Regions from separate parts of the Homo sapiens genome. Here regions 1 and 3 are each linked to region 2. The links are contacts of gene promoters, found by promoter capture Hi-C in blood cells and fetal thymus (Javierre and others, 2016). All regions are on one chromosome and are shown on one strand. The core of a region is centred on a gene start or on the middle of the fragment in contact, and the rest is flanking DNA. Distances in the headings are between cores, read along the strand shown.

What was found. Contacts are between HindIII fragments. The CHiCAGO score rates a contact against its expected background, and 5 or more counts as called.
Region 1: a contact is called between the fragment with the promoter of IL11RA here and a fragment that was not itself captured in region 2, in 1 of 17 cell types (erythroblasts). The highest score is 5.1, in erythroblasts.
Region 3: the fragment with the promoter of CLTA here is called in contact with a fragment that was not itself captured in region 2 in 1 of 17 cell types (fetal thymus); the score reaches 6.2 in fetal thymus.

What each region holds. Positions count from the first base shown.
Region 1 is chr9:34,650,607-34,653,666 of GRCh38, forward strand. It overlaps IL11RA (interleukin 11 receptor subunit alpha), which reads left to right and starts at 1,579. Exons shown (of 13, transcript NM_001142784.3): 1 at 1,579-1,627. It overlaps GALT (galactose-1-phosphate uridylyltransferase), which reads left to right. Exons shown (of 11, transcript NM_000155.4): 11 at 1-429. RefSeq lists a silencer at 1,535-1,634. The HindIII fragment of the contact is 12,105 bases long and covers 1-3,060 here.
Region 2 is chr9:35,602,922-35,607,146 of GRCh38, forward strand. TESK1 (testis associated actin remodelling kinase 1) reads left to right here and starts at 2,341. Exons shown (of 10, transcript NM_006285.3): 1 at 2,341-2,917; 2 at 3,063-3,184; 3 at 3,316-3,364; 4 at 3,916-4,062. The coding sequence starts at 2,699. RefSeq lists an enhancer at 1,577-1,686 and silencers at 2,167-2,416, 2,447-2,746, 2,767-2,936, 2,871-3,165, 2,947-3,206. The HindIII fragment of the contact is 1,139 bases long and covers 996-2,134 here.
Region 3 is chr9:36,188,479-36,192,488 of GRCh38, forward strand. CLTA (clathrin light chain A) reads left to right here and starts at 2,443. Exons shown (of 5, transcript NM_001833.4): 1 at 2,443-2,795. The coding sequence starts at 2,579. RefSeq lists enhancers at 2,078-2,703, 2,419-2,638. The HindIII fragment of the contact is 1,815 bases long and covers 1,337-3,151 here.

The DNA of each region.
Region 1 (3,060 bases), core at 329-2,828, 950 kb before region 2:
GTGTGAACCTTCAGAGATCTAGGGTTAAAAGCTAAAGGCATAGCTCCAGCTACAACTTTTCTTTGTCTACAGATGTGTAAAATCTTGATGCAAAAATCTACCCCAAATTTCTGAACAAAATTAATATTCAGTATTATATCTAGCCTATAGATTCTCTTACTCTTGGTGTAATGACAGCATTCCCAGTTTAGGAAACTGTTTTAAAATCTTGTGTCTTGGTTGTGGCTGAGGCTTTGGGAAGGCCAGAGCCCCCTTTGCCACCACCCCTAGGGTGTCAGCTCCAAGCCTGGGCCTGAGGGTTTGATGGGGAGCGGGTGAGCTGGATCCTGATCCCAGTGGTCAGTGGCCAGATCCTGGGCTGCTGGCCAGAACCCTGGCTTTGTGAGTGGCTGCAGCTTGGCTCTGCTCCAGCCCACAGGGGCTAAAGGGGCGGGTAGGGAGTGTGTAGGGAGCGTGTACGTGGCTTTGTGTCCTTGGCTCCTCCAGACTCTCACATGTGCGGGCACCATATACTTCTGCTGCCCTTGTGCCCCAATCATTGCACAAACAGAAACAGCTCTGACAGAGAAGGGACTGCTAGAGTTAGGAACCCTAGGGCCTGGAAGGAAGGTATGGCTCTCAGAGTGACCTGGGGTCTATTCAGTCCCCTCTGGACCTGTTTCCCTGGCAACGCTGTGGGAACAACAGTCTATGCAACACAGGAGACCTGATGCCACTGGTGTCCTCCAAATTTTAAGGCGAAGGCAGGCATTGTGAATGATGCAGGGATGGCCAGAATGGTTTTTGCCTTCGTTCTTTCCCCAGGGGAACCAAGCCTGTGGGTGGGGAAATCACACTAAGGCTGGACAGTGACTGAATCTGGCCCAGGAGAAACTTGGCTGCCTGCCTTCCAGACCAGGGTTTTTCTTCCCTGAGATCCTGGAGGGGAAGTACCTGGAACTTGGGAGTGTTGCCCTGGTCTGGAAGATCTGATAGACATAGTATGCACACATTTCCCTCGAGCTTCCCATGACTGGGGAGTAGATGAGAACCCTGAGTGGGTGGCTGGTTTCTTGAGGCATACATATACCCGACACACCTTACACCTCTGATTTGGCTGCATTTTGGAATCATCTGGGAAGTTTTAAACAATACTGGTGCCTAGGTCCAACCTCCAGAGACTCTGATTTAATTGGTATGGGGTGGGGTTTTGCAGTTTTCAAACCACAATATCCAGCAAAGTTTGAGAACCACTGCCCTACACAGCCCTCCTTCTTCTTTATCTTATCTGGAGTCAGGGGCACCTTCAGCTTCTCCAATCACCTGGCCAGTGGCTCTTGTTTCCAGTCCTGCTGTTCCAGGGTGGATAGGCCTTCAGGCGGAGACCCAGGAATCCAGCTCCAGACTCTGTCCCAAGCAGCCTCTTCAGTCCGGGACGGGACAGGAAGTGTCCGGCGGAGGTGGGGGTGGAGGTGATTGGCAGTTGGAGTCTCCAATGGGCCAGGAGCCCCCCTATTTCACTCCTCTCCTTCCATTGGCGCCTGGGCGGAGCCACCCCCGCTGCGGGGGCCCAGGGCGGGAGGGAGTAGAGGCCGGGGCAGAGGGCGAGGGCGAGGGCAGAGGGCGCTGGCGGCAGCGGCCGCGGAAGGTGAGGCCTGGTGTAGACGCCAAAGTCTTGTCAGGAGTGGGCGGGGCAGGGTGATGTATGATCTGAAAGGCCGGGAGTGACTAACGACTGTCAGTGTGTATGTGCCTGTGAGGCTGTGTCTGTGTGACAGTATCATTGTGTGCGATTCTGAGTGTCACTTGGTGCAGCTGTCAGCTAATGTGACTGCGTGTGTCAGTGTGCATGGAGCTGGAGGTGCATGTGGCTGTGCAAGTGTGGGATTATGTGTGTATCTGTCAATGCACATTTTTGGTGGGACTGGGTTGTGTGTTTGTGTGAGAGGGACTGTGACCACATGAGGGAATGTGTTTTGGGAAGGTCTCTGTGGGGTTTGAGACCATGTCTGCCAGCGTGAGAGTGGGTGGCTGGCTTTGTGTGTGCCAATGTGTGACTTCAGCAGTAGCAGAGCAAAAGTGAGGTTTGTGACTATGTGTGTGTCCTGGGTCCTAACTTAAACCGTGTGGGAGTACAGCTGTATTCATGTATTGGGGGACCTACCTCAAGAGCCCATGGGACTGACCTTTCTCTTAAGTGTCCAGCATTGACAGACACACCCACAACACACGTGGCTTCCCCTCCTTCCTCTGCTCAAGAATCCCCAGCATCAGGTCTACTGCTCCTTATTTTCTGTTTCCCTGCTTGGCTCAGTTTCCCTTACGTGCCGTTTTCTGTCCCTATTGCTGTCTTACTAGAGATACCTCTGTGTGTTTCTTCACAGCTTTGTTCCCCTGGTCTCTCTGTGTGGGTGCATTTCCAGTTTTGCCTTTCCTTTCTCTCTGTCTCTCTCTGTGCCCCTATGCCTGCCTTCCCTGCTGATCTTGATCTCTGGCTAGTTGGGGGCCTGTAACAGTGATGAGATGCGGGTCTGCCCCGGCTAAGAGCTCCCTGAGAGAGGGGGCTTAGACCATGATGAAGAGTTGCTTTTAGGCGGTGCTGTGAGCCCTGGTAGGGGCTGTGTGCGTGTGTGACTGCGTGAGTGTATGAATATGTGTAAGTGTGTCTGAGTCTGAGGCGGTGTGGCTGTGCCCGTGTGACTGTGAGTGACCGCATGTGAGAGTGTATGAGTCTGAGGGTAACTGTGGGTCTTGTGTATCTGGCACCAAGGGACCAAAGGCATTTCCTGGTGCTGGGGCCCAAAGAATGGAGGGGGAGGTGAGAAATGGCTGGAACTTCCAGGGGAGGGGGAACTGGACTCTTTGGCCTCTCCTTATATCCCCCAACCTGGGGCCTCCCTTCCCCTGGAAGCACAGCCAGCTGTACCCTAAGGAAACATTTGGTGAGGAGTGAAAAGAGGGGGAGTTTGTATCTGATTTTTCATTTGATTGTGTCCACGTGTGTTCAAAGGCATGCCCTTTTGTTAACTGTGCCTCTTGAGTCTGTGTGTGAATGTGACTGTGTCTGGCTGTGTGAAAACA
Region 2 (4,225 bases), core at 315-2,814:
AGGCAAAGGAAAGCCAATTTTGCACTATGGGTTTCCAACAAAATGGTCTTACTAATCCAAGGTAAATAAACATTCATTTTTCTATTCTGTGTGTGTGTGTTAAGACATTTTCCACCATACAAACAACAACAAAAGGTTTTTTTGAGACAGAGTCCCGCTCTTGTCGCCTAGACAGGAGTGTAATGGCGCGATCTTGGCTCACTGCAACCTCCGCCTCCCGGGTTCAAGCGATTCACCTGCCTCAGATTCCAGAGTAGCTGGAATTACAGGCGCTCGCCACATCAGGCTAATTTTTTTGTATTTTTAGTAGAGACGGGGTTTCACTACGTTGGCCAGGCTGGTCTCATCCTTTCCTGATTGAACCACAGTCACAGCCTCCTTCCTAATCAGTCTCCCGGCCTCCATACAACCACCGCAATCATCTTACAAAAAATAGGCACCTGGCTCTTTGGCTTGGCATTACCATCACCAACTACTACAGTAATTCTCAAACGTGATAAAGGGCCAGAACCCAGTGTCGGTTAAAAGATCTATGATATTAAACAAAATGAGGCATAAATTCCTAGTGTTTACAGATGTCATACAATAAAAAGCAAATTCACAAATTAGTTGTAGATGTTAACATTAATGTGATGAATGAGCGTGTGCTGAAGACCAAACGCCTCCAGAAAAAAGAACAGGATGCACGTGCCCCGTGCAATTCTGTGAGGTTGGCCTGCCTCCACCGGCTGTGGAAGGATTGCGAATGTCTCCCATTCCTCTCGCTCCAAACTTGTGCAATACCTTCCCTTGTACAGCGCACCAAGACAGCATCTGGCCTTCTCTTGACTCTAAGGCATCATGTATCATTTATGACCGTCTTTATTCTTTTCTCAGTAGCCCTCGACAAGCGAGTAGTATTTCTTGGCTCCAAGTCTCATAAACGTGTAACCAGACTCCATTGGAAGACGGTAACCCCACGCGATACGGACTGTGCTTGTATTAATTCTCTTTTAAGCTTACTACAGAAATATCAATACAGTACTTGAGAATTCCTGCAGGACTCAGCCTCGCTTCCTCGAGGAGCTCTCAGCCTGCCTCCGCACTCGAGACGGCAGCTTTCTCTCCCTCCGCCCACCGTTCCGCCGCTAGGTGGCAGGCGGCTCAACGACGCCCTTTTAAACCGTTTGCCCCGGAGTGGACCGCCGGGATCGCGTGTCACCACCCAACCCTAGCGATGATTGGCTATTTCGCCGAGGCCGGAGGAGGAACCAGCGGCAGAACCGGAAGCGTCTGGTACGGCGAGTGCACGGAGTCCTGAGACTGCGTGCGCACCCAGGCACCGCGCCGACTTAAAGAGGCCAGTTGCAGCCCCTCCTCCGGCCTTAGGGGGCAGACCGTGTTCCTACGTGGAGGGCGGAACCCTCACACTGAGGAGGGCTGGGTCACACTGAGGGGAGGAGTCACCTTGAGAGGAGGGGTCACAATGACTAGTGGATTTCCTCGGAGGTGGGGTCTCACTGCGTGGGAGGAACACAGAGCAAGGGGGTGCAGCACTGAGGGGTTCTGACACACTGACGGTGGCAGTGCCACACTGGGGAAAAGTGCCCCCGAAAGGGAGGTGTCTCACTGAGGAAGGGAGGGGTCTCCGAGGGACAGCGTTCTTTGAGGGGGGTGGGATCTTGCGGAAGGACGGGCTTCCCTGCAGGTGGAGGCTTCTCTCTTAGAGTCTTTTGGGCAAAGTAGTAAGAGGGAGGTCCCGGCTGGGTGGTCACAGGGCGGAGGACCTGGACTCTCTTCTTTATTGGGAGGCGGCAGGATGAAGTGAGGAGGAGTCGGGGCTAAGCTGGGTATGGGCCGGCCAAAGGCTTCCTATAGCCCCGGGGTATCACAACCTCCCGTGAAGGTAGAAGGTGTTAGGGAGGCCAGAGGTTCAAGGTGTCGGAGTCGAAGAGACCTGGGAAATGGGCAGGCTGGGCCGGGGCGCAGGCCAGGAAGGTGGACAGGTTGCTAGGCTACCTCTGATTGCGGCTGGGCCTGAGGGGCCTACCTTTCTGCCCCGTTGGTCCCTGGAGCCCAGGAATCCGGCAGGTTTCTGAGCCCGACCCTCAACGGACAGTAACCCAGGGAGGAGAGGGGACTCCCTGGGCAGCTAAGCTTCGCATGCGCACCATCAGCCCTTAATTCCCTCCCGTTATTCAAGCTCAGGCCGGAGCTTATTTGACCCGGGCGGCCCAGGGCATCGCGGCCGGAAAGCGGGGAGGCGGGGGTGCGCACCTGAGGGGGCGTGGCCGCTGCCGGGAGGCCGGGCTGGAAGGAGTTAAGCGGAGGCCCGGCCCAGCCCCGCCCCCGGCAGGCCGCGGAGCCTGATCCCCGGCGGCTAAGCGGAGCAGCCGCCGCCCGCCCGCCCGCCCGCCTCCGCCCGCGGCAAGCCAGCCCGCCGGCGCCCCGGAGCGCTGCCGCCACCGTCACCGCCACCGCCCGGTCCAGGCCCAAGCCCAGGCCCTGCGCGGAGCGGAGCGGCGCGGCGTCCACCCGGGCCCAGCCAGCCGGCGCGGCGGGGGCGGGTCCAGGATCTTCGGCGGATCTTCCATTCTCAGGGCGGGAGCCGGAGTCCGGGCGCCCGGGATCGGGCTGGGCCCGCGCCCATGGCAAGCGCGGCCTGCCCGGGCCCTGGGGACCCTGCCATGTGAGGCAGGCCCGGGCTGGGGGCCCGGCCATGGCCGGGGAACGGCCCCCACTGCGGGGCCCTGGGCCCGGGCCTGGAGAGGTGCCGGGGGAGGGGCCCCCGGGGCCGGGGGGCACGGGCGGAGGCCCGGGCCGGGGCCGCCCCTCCTCCTACCGGGCTCTCCGCAGCGCCGTGTCTAGCCTGGCGCGTGTGGACGATTTTCACTGCGCGGAGAAGATCGGGGCCGGCTTCTTCTCTGAGGTCTACAAGGTAGGACCGGCCGAGAGGGCAGAGGGGCGGGACCGAGCCTTCAACCAGAGGCTGAAACTAGGGGGCCGGGAGTGCGGGGAAGAGGGTCCAGACTCCGGCGACCCGCCCGACCTGCCCGGCCCTCGCCGGCTGCTCCTGCCCCCAGGTTCGGCACCGACAGTCAGGGCAAGTCATGGTGCTGAAGATGAACAAGCTCCCCAGTAACCGGGGCAACACACTACGGGAAGTGCAGCTGATGAACCGGCTCAGGCACCCCAACATCCTAAGGTGAGCGGCCCCAGTCTCTGGGCAGCTTGCTGGGCGGGAGAGAAAGGGAAAGATCCCGCGGGAAAAGTGGAACTGAGGAGGAGCTGAGGCCTTTAATAGCCTATCCTTCTATCTTCCCCATCCTCTTGCAGGTTCATGGGAGTCTGTGTGCACCAGGGACAGCTGCACGCTCTTACAGAGGTGAGGATAGGCCAGGAAGGAGGGATCCCCACCCCCCTTCACCCCCAAGGATAAAGGGAGTCAACAGGCCTGGTGGATCTACGGAGGACTAGTGAGAGGCAACAGGATCTCCTCTCAGGGGAGGCTTTCCTGAACTTTCCTTTAGGCAAACCACATATAAAAGGCCTCAACTGGTCTTATTCTCTGTATCCCCTAGAACAGTGCTGTCCAATAGAATTTTCTTCAGTGACGGAAATGTTCTCTATCTGTGCTGTCCAATACAGTAGCCACTAGCCACATGTGGTTAAATTTAAATTATTTTCATTGTTTAGATTATTTTTTGTGGGTCAACTTGATTAAAAAATTTTTTAAATTATTTAAATTGTTGCACATGGCTAATGGCTATTGAGTTGAACGGGGCAATCCTAGAACATGGATGGGGGGGGTCCTACAGCACAGTCTTACCCCTATGACCTCTGTGATCCTCGGGAGTGTCCCCTAGCGTGTAAGTGGGGGACCTAGAATACAGACTGAAGTCTGACATCTATTCCCATTCTCCTCCTATGCACCAGTATATGAATGGGGGGACATTGGAACAGCTGCTCAGCTCCCCTGAACCCCTGTCCTGGCCGGTCAGGCTCCACCTGGCCCTGGACATTGCCCGAGGCCTGCGGTACCTGCACTCCAAAGGTGTATTTCACCGCGACCTCACATCCAAGGTAGGCTAGCAGGGTGGGTGGAGACATGAAAGAGGGTTTGAGGCTATTAGGTTGTAACTGGCCTGTGGATGTTGGAATATGGATAACAGATATATTAGGATGTTGGAGTGGCAAGGCATTGGAGAATATTGGGGGACCAGGGTGAGGGGAGTGCTCGGAGGGA
Region 3 (4,010 bases), core at 1,193-3,692, 590 kb after region 2:
TTTTGCCTACGAAATACGGAGGGATGTGTAAAACTCAGGGCCCTTGTCCACTAGAGGCAAAGTGCCCCCTGACCCCTTCTTCCAAATATACTCTTTTGTCTTGTCTTTTATTCCCATTGCCCACCCACCTTTGTTCAGTCCACCAGGGATCATGGCAGGCTACACACTTCTAGTTCCTGGACATCTTCTAAATCTTCTGTCTCCCAGCAATCACCTGGGCTCCCCCAAAGCCCTCAAACTAATGGTTCTGGCAATTTCACAGATTCATGATTTATGACCCCATCCTTTCCCCTTGCCTTTTTCCCAGCCCGTACCTCTGGTCGGTCACCAAGTTAGTCACTTCCCTACTGGGACCCGCTTTCCCATCAACGCTCCCCACTCAGCTCCATACCTCTGCCCTGCCCAGACCTTCATCATGTCACTCCTGACATCTCTGCCCACAGCCTCTGCCCCATCCATCCTGCAACCAGGGACCCGATTAACCTCCTAAGCAGCAGTTGATCAAAACATTCCTTTATCTGAAACCTTCTATGGTTCCTTATTGCCATTAAGATTCCTTAACATGGAATGCTTTCAGGGCTCCAGAATCTGTCCCCAGATTTTCCTTCAATTATTCATCTTGCTGAGCTCTTCAGACTCCAACTAATTTACTCACTGTCCCCAAAACATGCCAAACATTTTCCCACCTCTGAACTTTTACATGACACTAACATTAGACCCTCATTATTGACTCTTCTAAACGTTCCCCATATTTCAAAACTGAGCTCCAAGCCACCTCTGTGAAATCATCCGTAAACACATCAGCTATTCCTCCAATTTTGAGTGTATACTTGTTTGTTGCTTTTGCATAATATGTAATGCCTCCTCTAGCAAGGGAATCACAGGAGAGTTTCTCCCAAAGTCATGCATTTCCCCAAAAAGAATGCTGTCTGTTCCGGAGCTACTACTGTTGTGAGCAACTAAAAGTTGTCTTCCTTGGGCTCTCTCATAGTAGTCCCTGCCCCTCTTTTCCTCATGAGACTATGTCAAGGCTAATGTGAAAATACTTCATGCACTGTTGCCAATGTATGTTAGGGATGAGCATAAAACAACAGACAAGGGGAAACAGAATCAATTGCAGACCCTAACATTTTAACTTTCTTAAATGTTTTTCTTCAACACTTTCCTATGGTTCATACTTTAAATGACTTTAAAATTATGCTTTAAGTAAATATATGCTTTAAATAATTTTTATTTGCTTCATTTTTCCTTCATAGCTATCCCTTTTTTTTTGTCATCAAAGATATGTGCGTTTTTTATAAAAACACTTTCTTGTCCCCTGCTGACTACCTCTGGAAGCTTCTTGTTGACCTCTGGTTTTTTGGTTTCTTTTTTTGGCTTTTCATTTCTTAGGGTGGTGGTGGTGGTAGTGAAGGAGAGGGGTCTTCTGGTGGCCCCTGCATAAGCACTCCCCCTCAACATGAGCATGATTAACTGGAACCACTGTTATTTCTGTGGTGTAGACAAAATGAGCCATGTAGCTATTAACATCTCCCTGATTTAAAAAGAAACACGGAACTTTCTTTTTCCTGCTGTCCTTAGGGAGGAAAGGTGTAAATATAAGAGACTGTAGCTAGTATCTTGGAAGTCCCCAGGAGACAGGCGTTTCCTCTTGGTCACTGACTCTCTGGGTCACTGACGCTCCTTGAACAGCAGGGCCACCGTGTCTCCCTTTGAAGCAAGTGATCCTTAAGGAATTTTCCAGGTTTAGTAACTTCTGTCTAGCTCCGAAAAGACGTAATGGCTGCAAAAGTGCTTCGTTGAAGAAGATAAGATATATTCATTTTTAAATAAAAATACTTATGGGCGAGAAAAATCGGAGTGGACTGAATCAATTACAGTAAATCTATGGGCTCTAAGGGAGCAAATAATCCAGGCTGGCTGAAAGAATTAAATATTTTAAATTTATAAAGCCAGGGACCCTCAAATCCATAAAAGGATTCAATCTTCTTCTTCTTTTTTTTTAGGATTCAATCTTCTAATAATCCCGGGAGGGGGCGCAAGAGCAGGATTCTTGTTTCTATTTTACGAATGAGGAAACTGAGGTTCAGAAAGCCTAAGTGGCATGCCTCTTCAGTAATCGGCCAATCGTCGCTGCCCTAACTTCACCTCACCTCCCAGTGCAGCACTAGAGTCCCCTCAGGGGTGGCCGTCCCTGGTCAGTCCAGCTCCAGCAGACGGGGTGGGTAGGACGCTCCCTATCAGGCAGCACTTCCGCCTCCCGGGGCCCGCGCAGCTCACCTCCCTCACCTCCCGCCCTACCCCAGTCACGAGTTGTTTTAGGGGGACCGCCCCTCCACTTGCTGATTGGGTAGCTCCTGAACCATTGTTGTCCTCTGATTGGTTGTTCCCTTTTCGGCTCTGCAACACCGCCTAGACCGACCGGATACACGGGTAGGGCTTCCGCTTTACCCGTCTCCCTCCTGGCGCTTGTCCTCCTCTCCCAGTCGGCACCACAGCGGTGGCTGCCGGGCGTGGTGTCGGTGGGTCGGTTGGTTTTTGTCTCACCGTTGGTGTCCGTGCCGTTCAGTTGCCCGCCATGGCTGAGCTGGATCCGTTCGGCGCCCCTGCCGGCGCCCCTGGCGGTCCCGCGCTGGGGAACGGAGTGGCCGGCGCCGGCGAAGAAGACCCGGCTGCGGCCTTCTTGGCGCAGCAAGAGAGCGAGATTGCGGGCATCGAGAACGACGAGGCCTTCGCCATCCTGGACGGCGGCGCCCCCGGGCCCCAGCCGCACGGCGAGCCGCCGGGGGGTCCGGGTGAGAGTGCGGGCGCGTTTGGGGCGAGAGGACTTGTCTGGAAACTCGGTCCACAGTGGGTCCGAGAGCTTCTGTGTGACTCGTGCTCCTTGCTGAATTAGGAGGTTAGGGAGCAGTGCAAACAGGAAACGAGACCCTGGCCCGGTCTTTCAGAAACCTAGGCTCGAGAAGCCTGTTCGGTTCTCAGCATGTTTGAGTGCTTCTGGGCGCGGGCGGAGCGAGAAAGCAAGTGTAGGGTGGCAGGCTCCGGAGCCGGAAGAAGCCCGTTCAATTCAGCAACTTTTCATTAAGCATTTGCTGTGCCTTTAGTCCGGTCTCTGAAGCAACCGCATTGGCGCAGTTTTTCCAGACTTATAAGCTTATAAGTCTGAGCCGAGCACAGAACTCGTTATTAGAAAAGGAGGGCGGAAAAAAATAAGAATGGAAATATCGTTTTTGAGAGATACAAACAAAAGTAGCAATGCAGTTCAGCATTTAAGCACTTAAGGTGTACAGAGTGTTGGATTACGAGGAGGAAGGAGGGAGTAGGGAACTCGAAAGATGATCTAGGTCTGGAGAAAGAACTGCCAAGCGCGGTAGGAGTTTGCTATCGTTGAGCGATTGATTTACAGCTAGGACTTCTGGAGCTCTTCCTCTGGGAACAGCTTTGGTAGGCAATATTGCCTAAGCAGAACCCAAGATTAGCCTAAACCAATCAGGGAGGGATGAAGAGGTGAATAGAGAATGTTCTCAGCCAAACTCAAGTAAAAATGGGGCAGGTAGGATGGCAGTTTGACCTTTGGATGCCTTAACCTGTGTGTGATGCTTAGGATCATGAGTGGAAAAGACCTACTTAATAATACAAAGAAGTAGGAAATTTAGCTAGAAGAAATGAAATACGGCTTTTCATTCACTTAAAAAATTCCAACTAAGGGAGAATAGGGCACTACTGGGGCATATAGGAGTAGTGTCTACCCTAAATTCAAACCTTAAGGAGCCAGGTAGGTAACATATACGAGAGAAGCTGGCTTGACATGAGACAGTAGAAGTGTTGGAGACTGAGGCTTTGCTGCACTATAGTAGTGCTCTGTGTAAAGGCATTCAGATCCAGCAGTCTCAAGTTACTGTGCCAGCCAGGCGGAACCTTTTGATGGATGGGTTGGTGGGTGTGCTGCTAGTTTGCAGCCTCTTGAGTTTTTGACTGCACCATGTTGCTTCCTAAACAAATCAGTCCCC